Regions from separate parts of the Homo sapiens genome. Here region 2 is linked to region 1. The links are contacts of gene promoters, found by promoter capture Hi-C in human tissues and cell types (Jung and others, 2019). All regions are on one chromosome and are shown on one strand. The core of a region is centred on a gene start or on the middle of the fragment in contact, and the rest is flanking DNA. Distances in the headings are between cores, read along the strand shown.

Evidence for each region. The method cuts DNA at HindIII sites, captures the fragments that hold promoters and counts their contacts. A contact is called where the count stands out against the background at its distance.
Region 2: a contact is called between a fragment that was not itself captured here and the fragment with the promoter of CCDC7 in region 1, in 2 of the 25 tissues and cell types used here (adrenal gland and heart left ventricle).

What each region holds. Positions count from the first base shown.
Region 1 is chr10:32,443,587-32,450,977 of GRCh38, forward strand. It overlaps CCDC7 (coiled-coil domain containing 7), which reads left to right and starts at 2,554. Exons shown (of 44, transcript NM_001395015.1): 1 at 2,554-2,811. LOC101929431 (a long non-coding RNA gene) reads right to left here and starts at 2,470. Exons shown (of 3, transcript NR_120660.1): 1 at 2,027-2,470. RefSeq lists an enhancer at 2,105-2,424 and a silencer at 2,495-2,724. The HindIII fragment of the contact is 7,178 bases long and covers 383-7,391 here.
Region 2 is chr10:32,389,782-32,396,521 of GRCh38, forward strand. It overlaps the pseudogene RNU6-1244P. Among named protein-coding and RNA genes, the nearest start is that of EPC1-AS1, 46 kb to the left of the region's middle. The HindIII fragment of the contact is 6,402 bases long and covers 1,171-6,740 here.

The sequences.
Region 1 (7,391 bases), core at 1,304-3,803:
AAGTGCACTGGCACTGTTTAAAATCAATTGACTTTATATATGTGGATATATTTCTTAACCCTCTATTTGTTCCATTTTTGTCTAACTTCGTGTAATATACTATTTTACTATAACTTTATAACTCTTGAAAACCTGTAGTATATGTCATTTAAATATTTGCTTATTTTTTTCAAGATTGTTTTGGCTCTAGCCTTTTTCATTTCCATATAAATTGCAAAATTATTTTCCCAATTTCTAGAAAATAATCTTCTTGGATTTTGATCATAAACGCATTTAATGTGTAGATAAATATTGATAGACATAGACTTAAAAAGTTGACATTTTAGCAATATTGGGTCTTCTAATCCATTAATATGGTACATAATCTCCATTAATTTGGATCTTCTTTAATTTCTCTCAGTAATGTTATATAGTTTTCATTGTAGATGTCTGGAAATTGTATGTTGTCTGGGAATACAGCTTTATTTCTTTCATTGAAATCATTATGCCTTTATTTCTTTTTCTTGCCTTATTGCACTTGTTAAGACCTCCAGTATAATACTGAATAGACATAGTGAGAGCAAATATCCTTGCCTCCTTCCAATCTTAAGGAAAAATCAATTTTTCACTATTGAAAATGATGTTAGCTGGAGATAGTTCACAGATGTCCTTCATCAGATGAAAAAGTTCCTCTCTATTCATAAGTATTGTTTGTTTTCAAAGAATAATCGATTCATGTCACAGACTCAAACCACTGCAAAATTTGATATTACATGCTTAAATTTATTAACTTTTTAAACTTCTTTGCTTTACATTGTCAGCACTGATAACTTTTCTGTGGTTCTTAGCTGTGCTATTAAGGCCACAGATATGAATGGTGAACTTTTGGCTAGACTCATGCTGAGAGTTTTGCTAATGTATGCTAACTTGACAACTTGACCGTTAAGATTTTACCAACAAAATTAGAAATGACTAGATGTAATCTATTTTCAGGGTTCTAGAAAATAACTGAAATTGGCTTTGTCAAATCTAAGGTCTTCTTTAATCTCTCCTGACTTTTAGTTCTATCTTTCCTATCCCTTTCATTTACAACGGTTTTGGGAGATTTGGAATTTAGCAATTCAATTCTTTCTAAACTACTTTCTTAATTTTATTGCCAACTTTAAAAAATAAAAAATTGTTGGTGGAAAGCTTAATAAATCTGATCATTTATATGTACATTTTCTTTGTTACTGACATAAAACACACATACTGAAAAGTGCATAAATAAGCATATGCCTTCATGTTTTTTTTTTTTTTTCTTTTTTAGATGGAGTCTCGCTCTGTTGCCCAGGCTGGAGCGCAATGGCACAATCTCGGCTCACTGCAACCTCCACCTCCTGGGTTCAAGTGATTCTCCTGCCTCAGCCTCCTAAGTAGCTGGGATTACAGGCACCCGCCATCACGCCCGGCTAATTTTTGTATTTTTAGTAGAGATGGGGTTTCACCATGTTGGCCAGGCTAGTCTCGAACTCCTGACCTCGAGTGATGCACTGCCTCAGGCTCCCAAAGTGCTGGGATTACAGGTGCGAGCCACCACGCCCAGCCTGCCTTCATGAATTTTTGAACACACCCAGAAAGAGCAGAAGACAGAACATTTCTGGTACACCAGAAGATGTGTTGTTTTCCCTTTCCAGGCAACCCCAATGGTAACTCCTAGTGGTGTGATGGAGCTAGCCTACACCAGCTCTTGGGAGCTGATAAATTTTCAGGAATCTCTTGTGAGGCATTCAGATTTTACTGGAAAATTAGAAATAATTAGATATAATGAATTTTCAGAGTTTTAGAAAATAGTTGAAATCTACTAAGTCAAATCTAAGGTCTCCTTTAAACCTCCTGGTTTTTAGTTTTAGTTCCATCTTTCCTATTCCTTTCATTTACACACAGGCATTATTAACAGTTAAATTGTATCAATTAATATTTTAAAATATTAAAAACATTTTACTTCGTTCAACTTAAAGACAAAATTAATATATTTCTTGAGGTCAAATTATCTAAAAAACTCTACCTTGTAAAATTGCATCTTAAAGCAGTGCGTGGAAACTGATGGCAAGAAACCACTTAAGTGTCACAACTCTGCTTCAAGTTAATTCCTAGTCCATTTGATTTTGTTTTGCTTTTAAGATCACGAAGCTGGTGTACACTTCCGTGCGAGCTTAGAGTGGTAATGAACTCCACAATACACTGAAAAGAGCTTGAGGAGACAGCAGATGAAGGACTGGGGCTCTGGTTTTGTAGCTGAAGCCCAGGTTCTCAAAGGTCCTACCAGGCCTGTACTTTATTTCTCCTCCGCGGGCCTCTAGGCCAAATGCCTGGATGAATCTGCGCTCAGGGGGCGTCCTGGAATTACACTTGGGAGAGAATAAGAAAGGAGGAGGCCGATGTGCCCATGGACATTATTAACCTTCCGGCAAATCCCCACAGCCGCCAAACTGCGTCTCCTCTTCCGCTCTCGGCGCGCAGCTCACGCTCGCAGCGTCAGCGACGCCGGCGGCGCCAAGGCGTCGTGGCGTCGGGCGCCTGGGACGTGGCTTCAACGGCCCCATCCGGCGCCGGCGGCGGGTGCCCGGCGGTCTTTGCTGCCGCCCGGGGGCGCAGAGGCCGGGCCTTTTCTTTCAGCACAAACGTCAGTTTGTAAAAGGGAGGTGCTGGAGTCTGAGGAGTTTTCAGGCTTCCGTCTCGAAGGAAGTCTGGCAGGCTCGGAATTGTCATCTTCCTCAGGCAAATAGTTTTTCACCTTAGAGCCAGCAAGGCCAAACCGCCCAGTCACCCGACTTCCCACAGTCTCAGCAGGTACACAGGGCGGGGAGCCTCGGGAGCGGCTCCCTTAGCAGGACCTGAGGGTTTCGGGAGAGTCCTGGCTTTGCACTTAGTTTTCCCGCTGCCTGGCTGCCTCCGTGGCGGTTGTGCTGCTTTTTATGCAGGATGTAGGATCGAAGGCAAATCATCCTTTCCCTACGTCCCCTGCCAACCCCTGCCGCTCTCCTCTATTTTGTACACTTTATCATTAAAGGATTTGAAATGAATGTAAGTTAATCCTTGAAGGATGAAACCAGAAAACATTTGTCGTGGTGGCGGAAAGGGACGGATGCACTTGGGCGAAGTAATGCTGACATCCACTTCCTAGCATTGTTAGGAGGGATAAATGAATTAAATATGTAAAGTCCTTAAATATTTGCTTGCTAATACGAGTATTCATTGCGTGTGACTATTTTTGTATTTATGTGAACTTCATCGGAGCATTTGTCAGGTTCTTTTTTTTTGCACCAAGTGAGCGTTGCCTGCCTGCCTGCCTGCCTGCCTCCCTCCCTCCCTCCCTTCCTTCCTTCCCCTCTTCCCTTCCTCCCTCCCTCCCTCCCTCCCTCCCTCCCTCACACTTTTTTGGGGAGAGAGGACACAATGCAATCCATAACAGCATATACACTTGTTCTTTTTTCCATCGAACTTTCCTCTTGACCATGTTTTCTTCTAGTAATACTGTATTTCTTTACTCCCTTTTATAGTAAAATTTCTCTACAGTGCTTATATTCAATTCATTGTTCCTACTTCCTCTCTTTTGAACGGTAAGTCAGATATTTACCTCGATCATTCTACTGAAATTGTTGCCGTTCTTCAGGTTACAAATGACCTACCTCCATGTTGCCAAATCCAGTGTCAGCTTAGTCTTCATTTTACTTGACTCAGCATTTGACGTAGTTCATCACTCGGTCCTTGGTGATATTTTCTTTTCCTTGCTTTCTATGTATATATAACCTTTTGGTTTTACTTATTGGCTCATTGGCCACTCTTCTTACGTCCTGTTTCCTGGTCCTGATGGTTTTGATGGAATTTTTGATGTTTGCTTGGACCTGAAGGTTTTGATGGAGTTTCTTTGGCAATGTAATTTATTCAGAATTCTTTTGAGGCTTTTCAATTTTGTAAATTTAATCTTGGTTTCTGCATCATTTTGCTTGTATCATTAATTTTTACTGAAAGCATCGTGTCACAATCGGCATGAGAAAAATGTAAAAGGGAGCAGGGCGCACAGTGGCTCAGGCGTGTAATCCCAGCACTTTGGGAGGCTGAGGTGGGAGGATCACCTGAGGTCAGAAGTTCGAGACCAGCTTGGCCAACGTGGTGAAACCCTGTCACTATTAAAAATACAAAAATTAGCCGGACGTGGCAGTGGGCACCTGTAATCCCAGCTACTTGGGAGGCTGAGGCAGGAGAATCGCTTGAACCTGGGAGGCAAAGTTTGCAGTGAGCAAGATTGTGCCATTGTACTCCAGCCTGGGCGACAAGAGCGAAACTCTGTCTCAAAAAAACGAAAAATGTAAAAGGGAATATTTTGCAGGGGCTTTGGTTCAAGTTCTATAATGTGTTTATTTACTATTATCATCAGTAATTTCCAAGAGAGCATTGTGTTCTTCCTTCAAATGGATTTTTAGTGACAAGTTATTTTTGCAAAGTCATATTTGATTATGATTTAAAAATTATGCTTGGCAACTATGCATTCAGTTAACTATAGTGTTAACTATAGTGTTTCATCGAAACAAAAAAGCAGTTGTATAATTCTTGGATGAAATAAACATTTTCAGTGCTATTAAGATATTTTCGTTCTATTGTTCACAACCTAGTTTAGAATTTTTATTTTTGAGAATTTTCTGTTTGTGCTTGTCAGACATATTTAAGGGCATGTATCCCTGGCCCCATATATATTATATATTTTTAATTTTAATTTTTTATGAGTAGTCTCTTACACATATATATGATTCTTTTCCAGCGGGGTGTCATCTACTTGTTAAAATCCTAATAAATGTTCACATATTGAAATATCTGCATTTTGGAAATCCATAATTACATCAACAATTGTTATCTGCTGTCCATATGTCCAAAATAATTGAGAAATTATTAGTTTTTAAAACTTTATTCAAAGTGGTTTTATTTATAACATCTGTAAGTTTTATTATTTGTTTTTATATTTTATTCTCTAAAATAGTATGTTATACTATTTGGTATTGATATTTATGTTTTGCATAAATGTGCTAACAGGATACCATCAACTTTTGCCATGGTTTCTGGCAAATAAAAAAAATCCTATTATTGGTCTCTTCATATATATCGGATGATCTTCTGAACATTAGATACTGCTTCTCCAAAAATTGAATCATGTTTATTGTTATTAACAAATATATAGGCCTTTATTTTCTCATTTTCAGTAGAATTGCTAATTATTTATATTTTTTTCAAACCTGATACTAGCTTTTAATACTTATCACTATTGATGTGTATTTTATTAATGTTCAGGAATATGTGATAAATGCTGCTGATCTTTGCATTATTTTTTATTCTTCAGCTGGATTATTCCTCCACTGATTTTATTCTTTGCATCAGTTTTTATTCTTCAGCAGTATTATTTTGTGATTACTCGTGTTGTTTTATCTGTTATATTTTTCATTTTTTAATATCTTCACTTGGGTCTTAAAAATTCCTCTTATACCTGTTTCATATGGCTGATATTCTCTTTCTGTGTGTTTATGTATTTTTAGTCTCTCTGTTTTAATGATTCTACAACTAAAACATGTTTTTTAGTTTATTATTTTTATATTTATTTATTTATTTGAGATGGAGTCTTACTCCATCCCCCAGGCTGGAGTGCAGTGGTGCAGTCTCTGCTCACTGCAACCTCTACCTCCGAGTTCAAGCGATTCTCCTGCCTCAGCCTCCCGAGTAGCTGAGACTACAGGTGCCCACCACCACGCCTGGATAATTTTTTGTATTTTTAATAGAGACAGGGTTTTACCATATTGGCCAGGCTGGTCTCGAACTCCTGACCTTGGGATCCACCCGCCTCTGCCTCCCAAAGTACTGGGATTACAGGCGTGAGCCAATGCGCCTGGCCTATTTTTTATTTTTTAATGGTTTTTTTTTCCGTTGTCAAGTTGTTTTGGCCTGTGAGCTCATATACCCCTGGGGGTGTCCCCTGTTTGTCTGGTAATCTATTATTAGGAAATGATCAAAAGCCAGTTCTCAGCCTGTGTTCCTCCTGGAAGTTAGGGAAAGTATGTGGGTGTATTTGTTTTCGAAGTGCTAAATATTTCCTGTGGTCTGAATGCTTGTGTCATCCCCAAATTCGCATGTTGAAATTGGGACCCAATTCAACATATGGTAGAATTAGGAGGTGGGGCCTTTAGGAGGTGATTAGGTTATGAGTGCAGCACCCTCATAAATGGGACTACTGCCCTTATAAAAGAGGTCTGAAAAAGCTCCCTTGCTCCTTCCATCATGTGAGGACACAGAGAGTAGGCAACATTTATTTAGCGTCTGGGCTTTCATCAGACACCAACTCTGCTGGTGCCTTGTCGTTGGACTTTCCAATCTCCAGAACTGTGAGAAATAAATGTTTCTTGTTTATAAGCTATGCAATTTATAGTGTTTTGTTATAGCAGCCTCAACAGACTAAGACACTAGTGCTGCTGTAACAAAGTACCACAAAGTGGGTGGCTTAGAACAACAGAAATTTATTCTTTCATGGTTCTGGAGGCCAGAAAACTGAAATCAAGGTTTCAGCAAAACCATGTTCCCTGCTAAGGGCTCTAGGGAAGAATCTTTCATTGGTTTTTACAAGCTTCTGGTGGATGCTAGCAATCCTTGATATTCCTTAGCTTGCAGCTGCATCACTTTAATTTCTGCCTGTCGCTATATGGTCTTCTTATAGTGACACCAGTAATTGGATTTAGGACCCACCTTAATTCAGTATGACCACATCTTAACTTTGTCATATCTGCAAAGACCCTATTTTCAAGTAAGGTCACATTCAAAGTGCTGGGGGCTTAGGACTTGAACATATCTTTTTCAGGGACACAGTTCAACACATAACAATGGGACAAGCCAAAGTGTAGAGAGCTTCAGATAACAGAGTACCAGTGTTACATTACTCTATCTTAATTTTGCCATTGTACCTGACAATTCCCACGGTTAGGCATATACTCTTAACACTATTTGGGAGGTGGCATTGTCCTGAGTCTTAGCTTTGAGGGGAGAGAAAAATAGAGGAATAAAAGCCCAAGACCTATCTAGTTTATACTTCCTTATCTTAGCATAGCTTTGATGCTGCCTTAATATTACACTAATGATACCTTGGGCCAAGGCTACTGCTCCTGTGGGAATAAAGATGTATATTAAGGACATATATTAGCTCAAATATGGGGGAAAGATAGGAAGAAATTGTAATTTTTCTTTTTCCTGAATGTATTCTCTCGTTGCTTCTGGCTTCTTCAGTCCGTATATTCCCATTCTAAATGCCCCATAAACAAATGAGCCTTTGTTTAGGGGTTTCTTAAGTTAAAAAATTTTTTGTTCTTGTTGTTTTCTGTTGTTAGGAATATTTTCCT
Region 2 (6,740 bases), core at 3,122-5,621, 52 kb before region 1:
AAAATAACAAAAAACAAACCTATTGCCCCAGTGGCAGCCATCCGTTTGCTACCTTTACCATGTACACGATCACCTCTTGACGTGACCACCCTTGATTTTTGACTTGCCATCATTGGCCTCATTGTTTCTCACTAGCAAAAGGAAATTCTAGTTGAACACTATTTATCTTCACTGGGAGTTTCTTAAAGAGATTACTTATCCAGGAGTTGGTATAAGATGTCCATGAGACCATGATCAGTTTCCAACATCCTGAGAGTGAGTTAGCCTCACTCTATTTTAGGGTCTAGGCTTCACTCTCAGCACTGCTTGTAAAGATCTATGTTAAGGGTGCTTTATTTTGAGGGAATTTTAAGCTAGAAGTTGACACACTGGACTCTGTCTTGGCCTCTCTGTTGCAATATATTCGGTGTCATCACAGAAGTCTTAAAATGTAACTTTCACTAACAGATGTCTTAAACTGTGTGCACTGTCAACTCAATTTTGCTGTGTCTGTTGTACATATTTGGAAAACCAATGCATCAAACCTCAATTTGCAAACCATAATTTGAGGGGGTATTTACAAGGAGACAGGCAGAATTATTTTCTTGTTTGAACCAATCCTGAAGCAGTGCTTCTGGGCCAGCTTTCACGCTGGGAAGTCCATGTAGGAGCTGAGCTGTTTGGTCAGAGCTGCAACTCTTTACGGTTTGGGACTCTGAGCTGAACATGATGCTGGGAATTTGCTGTTGGCAAAAGAACCCTTACAAAAAAGGCTTCTACCCTTCTGAGGCTTCCCAAGCCAGCATGTGGCACCCGGTATCATCAGAACAGATTTATTGTAGCCAAATCTCTCCTTACCATTCCTCTCCCCAGTAGTCAGTATCAAAATAGGACGCAGACCAGCTGAGCTCCCTGCTTCAGGATGCCTGGAAGAGCCCTAGGTACATGGTAGGAAGGGATGGAATCTCAGGAGAATACAGATGGTGCCTACAGACTTTTTGCTCTTACTGGAAAGAGGGGATGCTCCAGTGGTTCCTCTTTGGCAGAGTCTGGAATAGGGTTGCCCATCAAATTACAGAGATGCAGTTGGGTTGTCTGCCTTCTTGAGAGTACTCTGTGATGGGAGTTCTCAAACTAGAGACACTGATGTTTATGAACTCTCTGTGAGTAGTTTTTTTTTTTTTTTGACCGGGTCTTGCTCTATTGCCCAGGCTGGAGTACAGTGGCAGAATTATAGCTCACTGCAGTTTCAAACTTCTGGGCTCAAGCGATCCTCCCACTTCAGGCTTCCGAGTAGCTGGGACTACTATGTGCCAGCACATCAACCTAATTTTATTATGTTTTTGTAGAGACAGGGTTTCCCTATGTTGCCTAGACTGGTCTTAAACTCCTGGCTTCCAGAAATCCTCCTGCCTCGGCCTTTCAAAGTGCTGGGATTATAGGCATGAGCTACTGAACCTGGCCTTCTCTGTGAGAATTTTACATTTTCATTTCAACGTAACTTAAAAAACAATATGAGCAGACCCTGGATCATCTAGATAGCCTCTCTGTAGCCAAGTGTTATCCTGCAATTTTACTCTTGTGTTTGTGTTTGTAATTGAGTTAGAAGTGAGCCATTCTATTTTAATCAGAGAGCTACTGAGAAAAGAACGAAAGCTGACTTAATATGTAAATGATACATTTATACCAAGGGAAGGCTGCATATCACAACAAGCTGTATAAACAAATGGTTTCCAGTAATTTGAATGAAAAAAAGTGATGGGAAATTGTCATCTCACAGGACCTGTTAATAACCTGACCATAATGCTATCAAATTCATGCTACAACTGGTGATGAGAAAACAATATGGCATGTCACATAAAATTAATACCTTTCACTTATTAGTTTTCTTGCTAGGCTTATATTTAATTTATAGGTTGGCAGCTTTTATAGTTACAGAGGGCTATAAGCATATGTCATTTATACCTCATTGTATTTGTACACCAGGATGGTCTCAGGGGCCAGATTTCCTGGATATCAAACTTAGCACCACCACCTACTAGCTGAGTAAACTTGGGAATGCTACTTAACCTCCTTGTACCCAGATTTCTTCATTGCAATGAAAATATTTATAGTACCTACTATTATTGAGGGTAGTAATTGAATATATGTAAATTATTAGAACAGTGCCTGGGAATGCTGAGTATTCCTATAGTAAAAACGATTTAGCTCAGTAATTTATTTTATTTACTTATCTGGTTTTTTACTTTTTAATATTTGTGGATACACAGTAGGTGTGTATATTTATGGGGCACATGAGCTATTTTGATACAGGCATGCAATGCATAATTATCACATCATGGAAAATGAGATATCCATCCCCTCAAGCATTTATCCTTTGTACTACAACAATCCAATTATACTATTCTAGTTATTTTAAAATGTATAATTAAATTATTATTGATTATAGTCACCCTATTGTGCTATCAAATACTAGGTCTTATCCATTTATATATATATTTTTTGTACCCATTAACCATCCCCATCTATCCCCAACCTCCACTATCCTTCCCAGCCTCTGGTAACTATCCTTGTATTCTCCATCTCCATGAGTTCCATTGTTTTGATTTTTAGATGCCACAAATAAATGAAAATATACAATGTTTGTATTTCTGTTCCTGGCTTATTTCACTTAACATAATGACCTCAAATTCCATCCATGTTATTGTAAATGACAGGATCTCATGCTTTTTTATGGCTGAATAGTACTCCATTGTGTATATGTACCACATTTTCTTTATCCATTCATCTGTTGCTGGACACTTAGGTTGCTTCCAAATCTTGGCTATTGTGAACAGTGCTGCAACAAACATAGGAGTGCAGGTAACTCTTTGATAGATTGATTTCCTTTCTTTTGGGTATATACCCAGCAATGGGATTGCTGGATTGTATGGTACCTCTATTTTTAGTTTTTTGAGAAACCTCCAAACTGTTCTCCATAATGGCTGTACTAGTTTACATTCCCTTCAACAGTGTATAAACGTTCTTTTTTTAGCCCAGTAATTTAAATGAAGGTCCACACATATGGTAAGCCTGCTCTATTGGGTAAATTAAGGTATATGAAATAATCAGTAACACTTACATAGTACAACAATTTTATGAAATACTTTTTCATATATGTCATTCATGTAATTCTCTACATCTACCCTGAAAGGTAGATAATACTTTTCTTGTTTAAAAGCTTGGATAATTGAAGTGACATGCCCTGAAACAACACAGGTTTACCACCAGCATTTGGTGTTTTTTTTTTCTCCTCATGGAGAATGAATGAATATTTTGTAACTGAACATTTTCAAATTTCTTTTGGGTTGACAGGAACCCCACAACTAATTTTGTACTATAACACACATTAGTACTGTTGTAGGACTTATTGGTCTGAATATCTACATTATATTTTCTCTCCTGGTCTTAATTTTCTATTCTAATTTATATTTTCCCTGATTCTGAAATTTTCTGCATACTATTTTATTGTTTGGAATTTTAATAATCTGCTTCATGTACATTTTGGAAAATTGTGAGCCATAAATAAGTAGACTGACCCATAGTTACTTAACTAGTAAGGTCCAGATATTGACCTGAAGTCTTTTGGCTTTATAGGGAAGTCACATTTACCGAGCATTTAGCATGACTTGGTATTTTATATGCATTGTATCATGCAATACACACATTAGCTGGACTGAGGTAGGTTGGTTATTACTATCTTCCTCATATTCAGATGAAGAAATTAAAGCTTATAAAAGTTATAAGATTTTTTCCTAGGGTTAATAAATGTTATCTTAATTTTTGGCCCTCTAATTTATTCTTAAAAGTATCTGTCGGGCATGGTAGCTTACATCTGTTATCCCAGTACTTTGGGAGGCTGAGGCCGTTGAGCTTAGGAGTTCAAGACCAGCCTTGACAGCATAGGGATTCCCCATCTCTATTAAAATTACAAAAGTTAGCCAGGTGTGGTCATGCGCCTATAGTACCAGCTACTTGGGAGGCTGAGGCAGGAGGATTGCTTCAACTTGGGAAGTCGAGGTTGGAGTAAGCCAAGATGGAGTAATCTCAACTGCCCAGCACTTGAGCCTGGGCAACAGAGCGAGACCCTGTTTCAAAAAAAAAAAAATTCTTAAAAGCATGAGCTTTATTCTCTAAATTCAGCCCTGTTGTTAAGGCTTTAAGGCCAGATCTTTGTAAAAGACTCCATCCCTCGTTCCCAGCCCATCAAGTGGGCCTTTCCTCTTACGGCTTTGCCAAGAGCAAAAATTACTATTCTCCTCGATCCTGGCAAGCTTGTCTGTTTCTTTTTTTGAGCCAGTGTTATGGTTTTTACAGGATGTGAACACTGTTACTCAGATTTGCTTCTGTCCACACATTCCCTGGCCGTTCCAGGCCTGTGAAAGGAGTCCTTCTCCAATTGCTAGCCAGCAGAGAAGGCAGTGACCCCAGTTATAGGCTGGATTAAAGCAGAGCAGGAAATCAGGCTTTGGCTCTTGCCCTTATGATCTCCTATGTCATAAGGTGGCAAAGGATGTACCATTAAGTACCACCCAGCGACTAGAATAATGGATTCTTGAGTCTCCATTCCTCTGCCATCATTTTACACCAGACTTTACAGTGTTTCCCAATTAGTGATGCTTCCCAGACTTAATCATTTGATCATCGCAATTTTTGCCATATCCTATCACTCTTACTTGTATTTACTTAAATCTTCTTTAAATTAGTGACATCCTAGCTTAAATATATTACTTTCAAGGGTTACTTTATATTACTACCATTAATGGGAGGACAATATCACTATTTGTGTGTCATCCTTGTGCAGGGGCCATGCTAATCTTCTCTGTAGCATTCCAATTTTAGTATTTCTGTTGCCAAAGTGAGCACGACAGTATCACTATTAATGGAAGATAATCTTAAAATGAAATATAGTGGCAAAACAATAACTATTAAATTATTTTCCAAAAACAGGTATTGGAAATTAGGAAGCCTGTAGTTTACTTCTAACAATTACATAAACTATTGCATAAACTGTAGAATAGTATGAAAGCAATATAATTTTCTGTGCCATAATTTCCCCCATTTTAAAATGGTTTTATTTTTAATTTTTTTTTTTTCTGTCTCCCAGGCTGGAGTGCAGTCCATGATCTCAGCTCACTGCAACCTCTGCCTCCCTGGTTCCAGGGATTCTTGTGCCTCAGCCTCCTGAGTAGCTTGGGCCTACAGGTGCCACCACCATGCCTGGATGATTTTTCTATTTTTACTAGAGACGGGGTTTCACCATATTGGCCAAGCTGGTCTCGAACTCCCGATCTCAAGTGACCCACCAACCTTGGCCTCCCAATGTGCTGGGATTACAGGCATGAGTCACTATGCCCCGCCCTTAAAATGGTTTTAAACTGTTTACTATGTTCATTACGGTCCATTATCTGCGAGGAAAAGAGAGATTTCCATGCCAATTGCAGGAAGTAACTGGAAAGTATAGGGCATTAGATTGTGGCATGAAGGAGGTAATAGAGGTTAGAAACTACCAATAAAGAAAATGAGTGGTATGATACAGAGCTGAGAGCAGAATGTATCAAGTTTGACAAAATTTCTCCTCTTGGATATGACTAGAAAGTTTGGTGAGCCCTACTTGCAGATTTTTAGTCTTAAGATGGGTGAAGAAAAACAAAAAACATGGTAAGATCTTAAAATAAGGGGCTTAGAAACTTATAAGCGAGGGGGAAAAATGATCACAATAGTAGGGAGATTAAGAATGGAAGAAAAAAGAATGATAAATGTTCCTAGTGGTAAGAATTTTAAGACCCGATTCCTAAGCTAGACGCGATTCCTAAGCTAAATTCTACTTCTGATGGTCATTCCAGATTAACTCATTGACTTTGGAAACATACGTGCCATCCTGAAAGATTCCTTTACTTTTTTATAGGTCTAGGCACGGTGGCTCACACCTGTAATCCCAGCACTTTGGGAGGCTGAGGCAGGTGGGTCACTTAAGGTCAGGAGTTTGAGAACAGCCTGGCCAACATGGTGAAACCCTGTCTCTACTGAAAAAATACAAAAATTAACCAGGCGTGGTGGCAGGCACCTGTAATCCCAGCTACTCTGGAGGCTGAGGCAGGAGAATCGTTTGAATCCAGGAGTCAGAGGTTGCAGTGGGCCAAGATCTTGCCACTGCATGCCAGCCTGGGTGACAGAGCAAGATCATGTCTCAATAAATAAATAAATAAATAAATAAAATAAAAAATACTGCATGGGTTACTTAGGTGGTAGCAATACTTATGGGTATTATTGGTTACTGAATGAGCAAAGAAGGGCACAGCAGTCTCTTAGGAAAAGTATACAAATGATGGAACCATTGTAACAATAATTTTATTATTCAAGAAAATTCAGATAAATCATCTATTGCCCAAATATAGGGATTATGTGATGAGAGCCCTGATCCACTGAGAATGATGATCAGAGACATTCTTTCAGTTTTTCAGCTGCCAAGAGTGAAGAGTATAGCTTGACTTAGGGATGAGGCAAGTTGCAATTTATTTTGGAAGAAATATATGGAGCAAAAATAAAAATTTATGGTTAGATATTATAGTAATTCTATTAACTGGGCTGAGAATAAGGAATGTTTACAAATAATGAGAAAAAAAGCCTGTAAAGATGACCGAGTAGTAACAGAAAAAAGATAGAAAGGGTCTTTAAATAAGTTGAGCAAGATTTGGGGTGTGAATAGTTGTGACAATAAT